Linked DNA regions of Homo sapiens: region 1 is linked to region 2. Evidence: promoter capture Hi-C in human tissues and cell types (Jung and others, 2019). All regions are on one chromosome and are shown on one strand. Each heading gives the region's core, a stretch centred on a gene start or on the middle of the fragment in contact. The rest is flanking DNA. Distances are from core to core; before and after follow the strand shown. Region 1 overlaps ZSCAN22 (zinc finger and SCAN domain containing 22). Region 2 holds the start of ZNF460 (zinc finger protein 460).

Region 1 (3,800 bases), core at 797-3,296, 1.1 Mb before region 2:
AGAGTGATACAGGGGCAGAGAATAAAGGCAGGAAGTGGTCAGGAAGGAGACCCCGGCTATAATCCAGGCAAGAGGCAATGAGGGCTCACATAAGGTAGCAGTGGTGGAAAAGGAGGTGAATTACAGATAAGCTTTAGGTTAAAACAATAGCGCTGGTGACTGGTGGGATGTGGAAGGAAAAGGAGAGACAGGAACATGCTGGGCAGGTGTCAAGCAGCACCACTGATTACGACAGGAAACCATGAGAGAGGCAGAGTGTAGAAAAGGCATCGTGGAAGAGGCAGTCTCAAAAGTCAGCCTTGCAGTTAGGCACAAAATAGTCTGGAGTGGAAATAGTAGGTGCCAAGGCACAGAGGTGGGCATGGCAGGTGTCCGTTCTGGGCTAAGCAGCAGAAAAGCAGGCAAGAAGAACCACATGAGAACAAGCTACAGTTGGCCCGCCCAGAGCGTCTTGGGACGCTGAGTTCTGAGAGACATGCGCCTTCATTTGCCCTGGCCCTCAGAACCAGTCTAAATCCTCAGTTCGGCTGCCTTCTCTCTGGGACAGCCCTGAGTGGGAAATAGAGGGTAGCAGTGCAGGGCCCTTCTGGAAGCTTCTCCAGCTGGCCTGAATCACCTTGTGCTCATCAGGGTTCCTCAAATGCAGAGTGGTTCCTAGACAGCCCGAGTCTGCCCTCAGGCACCTATCATTTTGACAACTCATCAATCACCCACCCTGTCTGTGGCTCTTCAGGAACTCAGCGTTTCTCTTAGACCTCGAGCCTCCGAGAAGACGCTGTGCTACGCCCCCAGGGGCGACTTCCGGTCATTGCAGCACCGTGATGTGGATCCGCAAGTGAACCATCAGGGCTGAGCTACGACTGAAGGCCTTCCCACAGTCGCTGCACTTATAAGGCTTCTCTCCCGTGTGGATCCTCTGGTGCTCAATGAGGGAGGAGCTCTGTGCAAAGGCCTTCGGACAAACCTTACACTGATATGGCTTCTCTCCAGAGTGGATTCTCAGATGTCGGATCAGGGCTGAGCAGTCGCTGAAGGCTCGGCCACACGCGTCACACTTGTAGGGCTTCTCCCCGGTGTGGATGCGCTGGTGTTGAGTCAGGTGCGTGCTCTGGCTGAAGGCTTTCCCACACGCGTCACACTCGTAGGGCCGCTCCCCCGTGTGCACCCGCTGGTGCTGGGTGAGGTGAGTGCTGCGGCTGAAGGTTTTACCACATTCCCCACATTTGTAGGGTTTCTCTCCAGTATGAATCCTTTGGTGCTGAGTCAGGTGGGTGACTCGGCTGAAGGCCTTCCCACATTCCTTACACTCATGGGGCTTCGCCCCTGTGTGGACAACCTGGTGCTGGGCGAGGTGAGTGCTCCGGCTGAAGGCTTTCCCACACTCGCTGCAGGCATATGGGGTCTTCCGAGAATGGGTCTTCTGGTGTGCCTCGAGCGCCGAAGCACTCTGGAACATCTTCCTACACTCGCGACACTTGGAGGACCTCTTCCCTGAGTAGGTGTATGGAGGCTCTGTCCCATAAGCATCCACCAGATCAAATTTGTCTTCTGAAGGAGGCTTCTCTTGGGAGGTGAGGTTTGGCCACGCACTAGAACTGTTCCTCGAGGCACCAGATTCACGGCCACGCTGGTCTGTGGGGACATCCTTGTAAGGCCCTGAAGTTTTCTTGAAGTGGATCTGTTGGGTGACAGACTTTGTCCAGATCTCCCCTGATAGTCCAGACCTCTCTGAGCTGCCCTCAGGTTCACATGCCTTGACAAAGGCGGGTCCAAGGGAAACACCTCCCATGAGGGTCTCAGTGACATTTGATGGCTCTGACTCTCCCAGGTCACTCTGCTTGCAGCTTGCCTCTGTGGGCTCGGCTCCTGGATCCCATCCTGAAACAGTCCGAACCACACTGTCACTCCTCCTACCACACCAAGCCTCCCCTACTCTGCCGAGGGCCCCGGTCACACTTTGTAAGGGGAGATGTGGCCCGTTCCTAACATCTGGCCCCAGTTCCAAGGGGAAGTTTCTCATTTGGTGTCTTGGATGACAAAGGGTGCAGGGCTGTCCTCCCACACCATCCAAAACTACACCATGGGTTCTGATTTCTCCTCCTCCCACCAAACTCGCCATCTTTCAAGGCTCCCAATTTTGGCTCAAGAGTCAAGAGGAGAAACCCTGATGTGGAACTGATCTGGAGACAGAGAGAGAGGGAGGGTCTGTCCTTGTCAGGACCCTGAGCACATGCACCCCTGCAGGCTCTGATCTCTGTGGGGTTGCAGTTCTGTCCCTCACACTCAACACCTTGCGTCTAGGCCTGGATGTGTCCCCTGCAGGCTCTGATCTCTGTGGGGTTGGAGTTCTGTCCCTCACACTCGACACCTTGCGTCTAGGCCTGGATGTGTCCCCTGCAGGCTCTGATCTCTGTGGGGTTGGAGTTCTGTCCCTCACACTCGACACCTTGCGTCTAGGCCTGGATGTGTCCCCTGCAGGCTCTGATCTCTGTGGGGTTGGAGTTCTGTCCCTCACACTCGACACCTTGCGTCTAGGCCTGGATGTGTCCCCTGCAGGCTCTGATCTCTGTGGGGTTGGAGTTCTGTCCCTCACACTCGACACCTTGCGTCTAGGCCTGGATGTGTCCCCTGCAGGCTCTGATCTCTGTGGGGTTGGAGTTCTGTCCCTCACACTCGACACCTTGCGTCTAGGCCTGGATGTGTCCCCTGCAGGCTCTGATCTCTGTGGGGTTGGAGTTCTGTCCCTCACACTCAACGCCTTGCGTCTAGGCCTGGATGTGTCCCCTGCAGGCTCTGATCTCTGTGAGGTTGCGGTTCTGTCCCTCACACTCAACACCTTGCCTCTAGGCCTGGATGTGTCCACAGGTGCTCAGTGAATTCTGGCTGAATGAGGGAATCCATCCAGAAGCCCACGATGGTGAAAATTTCTGCAAGTAGAACCCCAGGTAGAATATGGCTGCTGGGGGTGAGTACATGAGGTACCCATCTGGCCTCTCAAGCCCCTACATTGTAAAGTACTATGAAGGCAGAGTGTGGCGGAGGTGCTCTTGGAGATCAGAGTGTGCATGAGGTAGAGGAATGCTCGCACTGACCTGCCCTGCATGGGTGCAAAGGACACATAATCTGGCACATCTACTGGATGGATTCCAGGGAGGAGGCAGAGACAGGTGGAATACCCACTGCTCAAGTCCACAGTGGGGCTCAGCAGTGCAGAAACTGGACTCAAACCCCAGGTCTACCACCTTAATCAGTCCTGCCCTCATCTGGGACTCAGTCTCCCCATCTGTAAGCCATGGATGCTGTGCCGCTGGCCTTCCAGGGCCACTAACCACTATCAGGCTCTTGTCGTGCTGGGCCCCAAGCACAGTGGGTGACTTCCATCGCCTCATTTCAGCTTCGACCTGCTCTCAGAAGGAGGTACTGCTGTGATTCTGTTGCAGATGGGGAAACTGAAATCCAGCTGAGGGAAGGTGTTGAGTAACTGGTACAGGATCACAGTTAGCTAGTGGCCCAGTTGGGATTTCAGCTCCAGAATGTTCTCCTCCAGGTCCACAGGCAGTCTCCCCTGCTCCCCCAGCCATCTGCTTGGCCCTGTCTCCCCCTTCCTTCCTCTATCCAGAAACATCACACCACCTGCTTTTACCAGAATACACCAGTGCAAATCACACTGCCAGGCCTTTGACCCCACCATTCCCTCTGCATTTTACCCTTTCTCTGAGCTTTGGCCAACCCTGTGGGAGGATGGGGCCACTCCCTCCTTCCTCTCCCTGTCTCTGTGACATCTGCTTGGGCATAGACCA
Region 2 (4,314 bases), core at 126-2,625:
AGAACCTAATTCTAAAGAGTAATCCCAGCACTTTGGGAGACCCAGATGGGTGGATCACCTGAGGTCAGGAGTTCAAGACCAGCGTGGCCAACACGGTAAAACCCCGTCTCTACTAAAAATACAAAAATTAGCCAGGCGTGGTGGCGCACACCTGTAGTCCCAGCTACTCAGGAGGCTGAGGCAGGAGAATCGCTTGAACCCAAAAGGCGGAGGTTGCAGTGAGCCGAGGTCACGCCACTGCACTCCAGCCTGGGCGACAGAACAAGACTCCGTCTCAAAAAAAAAAAAAAAAAAAAAAAAAAATTTCAGGGTTAAACGAACTGAGGGTTAAATAATACTCACCGATCAGCCCACAGCAAGGACTCAATGACAGTTAATATCATTCTTTGCAATTATTTTTCTTTGTTCCCATTACATCCTTGACAAACTCAAATCCACAAGCTTCTTTAATACCATCAGATTATCTACACAAAAATACCAGACTCTGGGCAAGGGTGTAAGGTGCCACTTTAGCCGGAATTGCCAAAAAAGGCACCTCCAAATAGGTGACACCTGGACAGATGCCAAAAGGATGTGAAAGGGAGGCCCTGCAAAGTTACAGGGGCAGTGTTCGAAGTAAAAGGAAGTGCAAGGAGAAAGCCTGGAAAATGGAAGAGGACTGCACGGTCAGGTTGGTGGCTCTGAAGAGCAAAGGACCAGGGAAAAATGCAAACAGACAAGGTCAGGGGTGGTTGGCCAGGTGGATGGGGTACGGGCTGGCAGGCAACAGAGAAGGTTGGATTTAGGGGAAGTGTGATGAGATCCCTAGAAGGAAGCATCACTCCTTCAACCACGGACTGAACACCTATCAGAGGCCAACACTGTTGCAGGACTGCGGATAAAGGAAATGACAAGCCACGGCCATTTCTCTTAAATAAACGATGGCGACAAAGAAAAATCCTGTGGCTGTCTTGGCTTCCAGCCTGCCCACGAGGCCTCTAGAAATAGCACAGCAGCAGCAAGGCCGAAACCTCGTCCACTCACCTGCGCCGGAGCCATCCACGCCGCCGCCATCCCGGGAATGCCGCGGATCAGCCGACCACAGCCCTTCTCTGTCCTGGGCGGGGCGACCTCGGCTGACTTTCGCACTCCGAGCCTCAGTTTTCCCCCGAAAAAAATGCGCACAAGGCCCAAGGCGCAGCGTCGGGGCTGAGGAGACGGAGGGCGGCTGCGGAGGCCTAGGCCTCGGCGGGCGCCGGTGGGACACCTCGTTAGGGGAGAAGCGGGGCGTCAGGCTCCCGCCAAGACGCGAAGAAGGGGCGTAACCGCTTCACTACCCGTCCCTGCTCAGGCCGCAGAACGCGCCCACCCAGCGCTCTAGGCCCCACACTGTTTCAGGGCCAAACCGGCCCACGGAGATGACGTCACACGAAGAAGCGGAAGTCCCGCCTCCGCCGCCCTGGCCCGCAGAAAACTCTCCTGTCCTGGGTCGTCAATGGCCCAGAGTCCGCGGCCGACGCAAGGGGCAGTGCCTTCTGGGTAATGCAGTTTTTCCCTTACATCTACCGGGTGTGGGAACTCACCCAGCGCATCCGACTGCACGTAAGTGCGCACCAGAACCCCCGCGTCGTCTTAGGGCCACCGCCTTAGTATAGGCACAAGTCGGAGGGTCGAAAGGTCCCTTCTAGCTCAGGAAAATCGAGGTCAGGAGGCGGGGATATTCGCCCCGATTCAGACCCCGAACAAAGGTGCTTACCCTGCTGTGGGCTGGGCCCGCGACTTCTCGCTTGCTTTGCCTCTTTTCTGGATCTTTTCATAGAAGAAAAGGATAAATGAGCAGTTAAAATAGCCACCCAAAGGAGGACGCCTGACAGTGTGCCCAGCCTGCTGGGAAAGGACAGACCGCCCTCTATTGGGCCTCCTTTGGCCGGGCCCAGCCTTCGTAGGATGCAGGGACTTCCGGGTGATGTAATAGGCTTCGCGTTCGCCACGTGTGGACTTCCCGTACCCTGAGGTGGGGAGGCTGCTAGTGGAGCAGGCTTGCCGGGAAGCCCAGTACTCCCATTTCAAGCATGATCAGTTTGAAACGTCAGTAAGACCACAAAGCGTAGTGCCATATACTCAACCTATGATTCAACATTGGCAGAGGGTTCGAGCGTGGATATATAAATTTGGGAGTTATTACTGTAAACTGTTACTTCAAGTCATGATATTGGGTGAGGCTATGAAAAGAATGAGCGTAGATGGATAAGTGACGGGAAAGAGGGGAACCCTGGCCCAACCCAGCATTAACTGGTTGCAGACAGGAGAGTTTATAAAGTCTTGTTAGGAATTTTAACAATCCTAGACTATGCAAAGATTATATTATGCGAAGTCTTAGGAGTCCCCATCAGTAACTTTTTTTTTTTCTTTTCATGACTATGAAAGTGAGAGAATAAAGTCCAGCTTTCAATGGTTTGACGATATATATGGTTAAGGAAATAGAAAGGTGTGCAGAAAGTACTCTCCAAGAGATTTAATTTTGAGATTGAAAATAGTCAAGGAATGGAGATGGAGTCAATTTCCTACACGATGCGGTACTTTTGGAGAAATATTTTTGGCTAAATTAGTGTGCAAGGAACACTGTTATTCATCACTGGCAATAGTAATTTTTGAAAATTGATAAAGACATCATTCTCTTTTTCACATATTTGTGACTCTTAAATTTTTTTTTTTTTTTTTTTTTTTTGAGATGGAGTTTCACTCTTGTTGCCCAGGCTGGAGAGCAGTGGCACAGTCTCCACTCACTGCAACCTCCGCCTCCCGGGTTCAAGCGATTCTCCTGCCTCAGCCTCCTGAGTAGCTGGGATTACAGGTGTGCGCCACCACGCCTGGCTAATTTTATATTTTTAGTAGAGACAGGGTTCTTCCATGTTGTTCAGGCTGGTCTCAAACTCCCGACCTCAGGTGATCCACCCACCTCGGCCTCCCAAAGTGCTAGGATTACAGACGTGAGCCACCCCCTCTGGCCAGACTCTTATAATTAAATTTAAATGGTTTTTTCAGAGGCATATGAACCAGAGCAACTCTATCTTAAATAGGAGCTGGGTAAAATGAAGCTAAAACCTACTAGGCTGCATTCCCAGACAGTTAAGGCATTCTGAGTCACAGGATGAGATAGGAGGTCAGCACAAAATACGGATCATAAAGACCTTGCTGATAAAACAGGTTGCAGTAAAGGAGCTGGCCAAAACCACCAAAACCAAAATGGTGACAAGAGTGACCTCTGGTCTTCCTCACTGCTACACTCCCATCAGTGCCACGACAGTTTACAAATGCCATGGCAATGTCAGGGAGTTACCCTATGTGGTCTGAAAAGGGGAGGCATGAACAATCCACCCCTTGTTTAGCAAGTCACTAAGAAATAACCATAAACATGGGCACCCAGCAACCCTTGGGGCTGCTCTGTCTATGGAGTAGCCATTCTTTATTCCTTTACTTTCTTAATAAACTTGCTTTCACTTGCACTGTGGACTCGCCCTGAATTATTTCTTGTGCGAGATCCAAGAACCCTCTCTTGGGATATGGATTGGGACCCCTTTCCTGTAACACATTCCTGGCCACTACAGAAGAGACTATACTGCAGGAACCCGTGACCCAAAGGCTAACTTTGGGTAAGTGGTGGGGTCGGGTAACACTTTTCTCGCAAACCACAAAAGGGACAATGCTGAGGAGACCCCCCTGACTCAAAGGAAATAGACTGCAGCACTGATTGGATGACTTTGGGTAAGTGGTGGGGTACCCAGGTAAAGAATGGGATTGGGATAGACGCTCAAGTTAGGGGAGTTAGAGTCTCTCCTAAGGCAGAGTGGATTAGAGGCCCCTCTTAATAAAAGGCAAGGACGCTTGACTGACCTTGGGTTAGAGGCCCAACTTAGGAGGATTAGAGTCCCTTCTAAGATTTAGGGGGTTAGAGACCCCTCTCAGTAAAGTCCCTCTTGGCTAAGAAGAGGTTTGGCACCGTGGGATGTTAACTGCTATTGTCTTTGGATTAATCTGCCTTGCACTCTTTGCTGATGGCTCCGGGCGACAGGGTTAGGCGTGTACAGGATCGTGGGACATGGGGAGCTTTTTCCTCCCCCAAAAGGGGAAACTTGAGAGCTGACGGGACTGCTGGAAAAAAATCCCTTCACGACAGCAGCCGTAGCCGCCTGAACTTTTCAGTGTCACTGCAATGGGTGGGTCTTTCTCTGGCCTCCCTGATCATTTTGCCTTCCCTGGGAAAGTATTGCTTGTGGAAAATATTTCCTGGGAAAGTATTGCCTGCGAAAGCATTTCCATATATAATTTTTTTTT

What was found. Contacts are between HindIII fragments. The study calls those that stand out against the background at their distance.
Region 1: a contact is called between a fragment that was not itself captured here and the fragment with the promoter of ZNF460 in region 2, in 1 of the 25 tissues and cell types used here (aorta).

Annotation. Positions count from the first base shown.
Region 1 is chr19:58,336,332-58,340,131 of GRCh38, reverse strand. ZSCAN22 (zinc finger and SCAN domain containing 22) reads right to left here. Exons shown (of 3, transcript NM_181846.3): 3 at 1-1,878. The coding sequence ends at 806. Among named protein-coding and RNA genes, the nearest start is that of MIR6806, 3.5 kb to the right of the region's middle. RefSeq lists an enhancer at 1,120-1,621. The HindIII fragment of the contact is 3,367 bases long and covers 363-3,729 here.
Region 2 is chr19:57,277,546-57,281,859 of GRCh38, reverse strand. It overlaps ZNF460 (zinc finger protein 460), which reads right to left and starts at 1,375. Exons shown (of 3, transcript NM_006635.4): 1 at 1,024-1,375. The coding sequence starts at 1,053. ZNF460-AS1 (ZNF460 antisense RNA 1) reads left to right here and starts at 1,526. Exons shown (of 3, transcript NR_136529.1): 1 at 1,526-1,581. RefSeq lists enhancers at 1-13, 942-1,533, 917-2,116, 1,534-2,125, 1,240-2,179 and a silencer at 470-519. The HindIII fragment of the contact is 9,196 bases long and covers 1-4,314 here.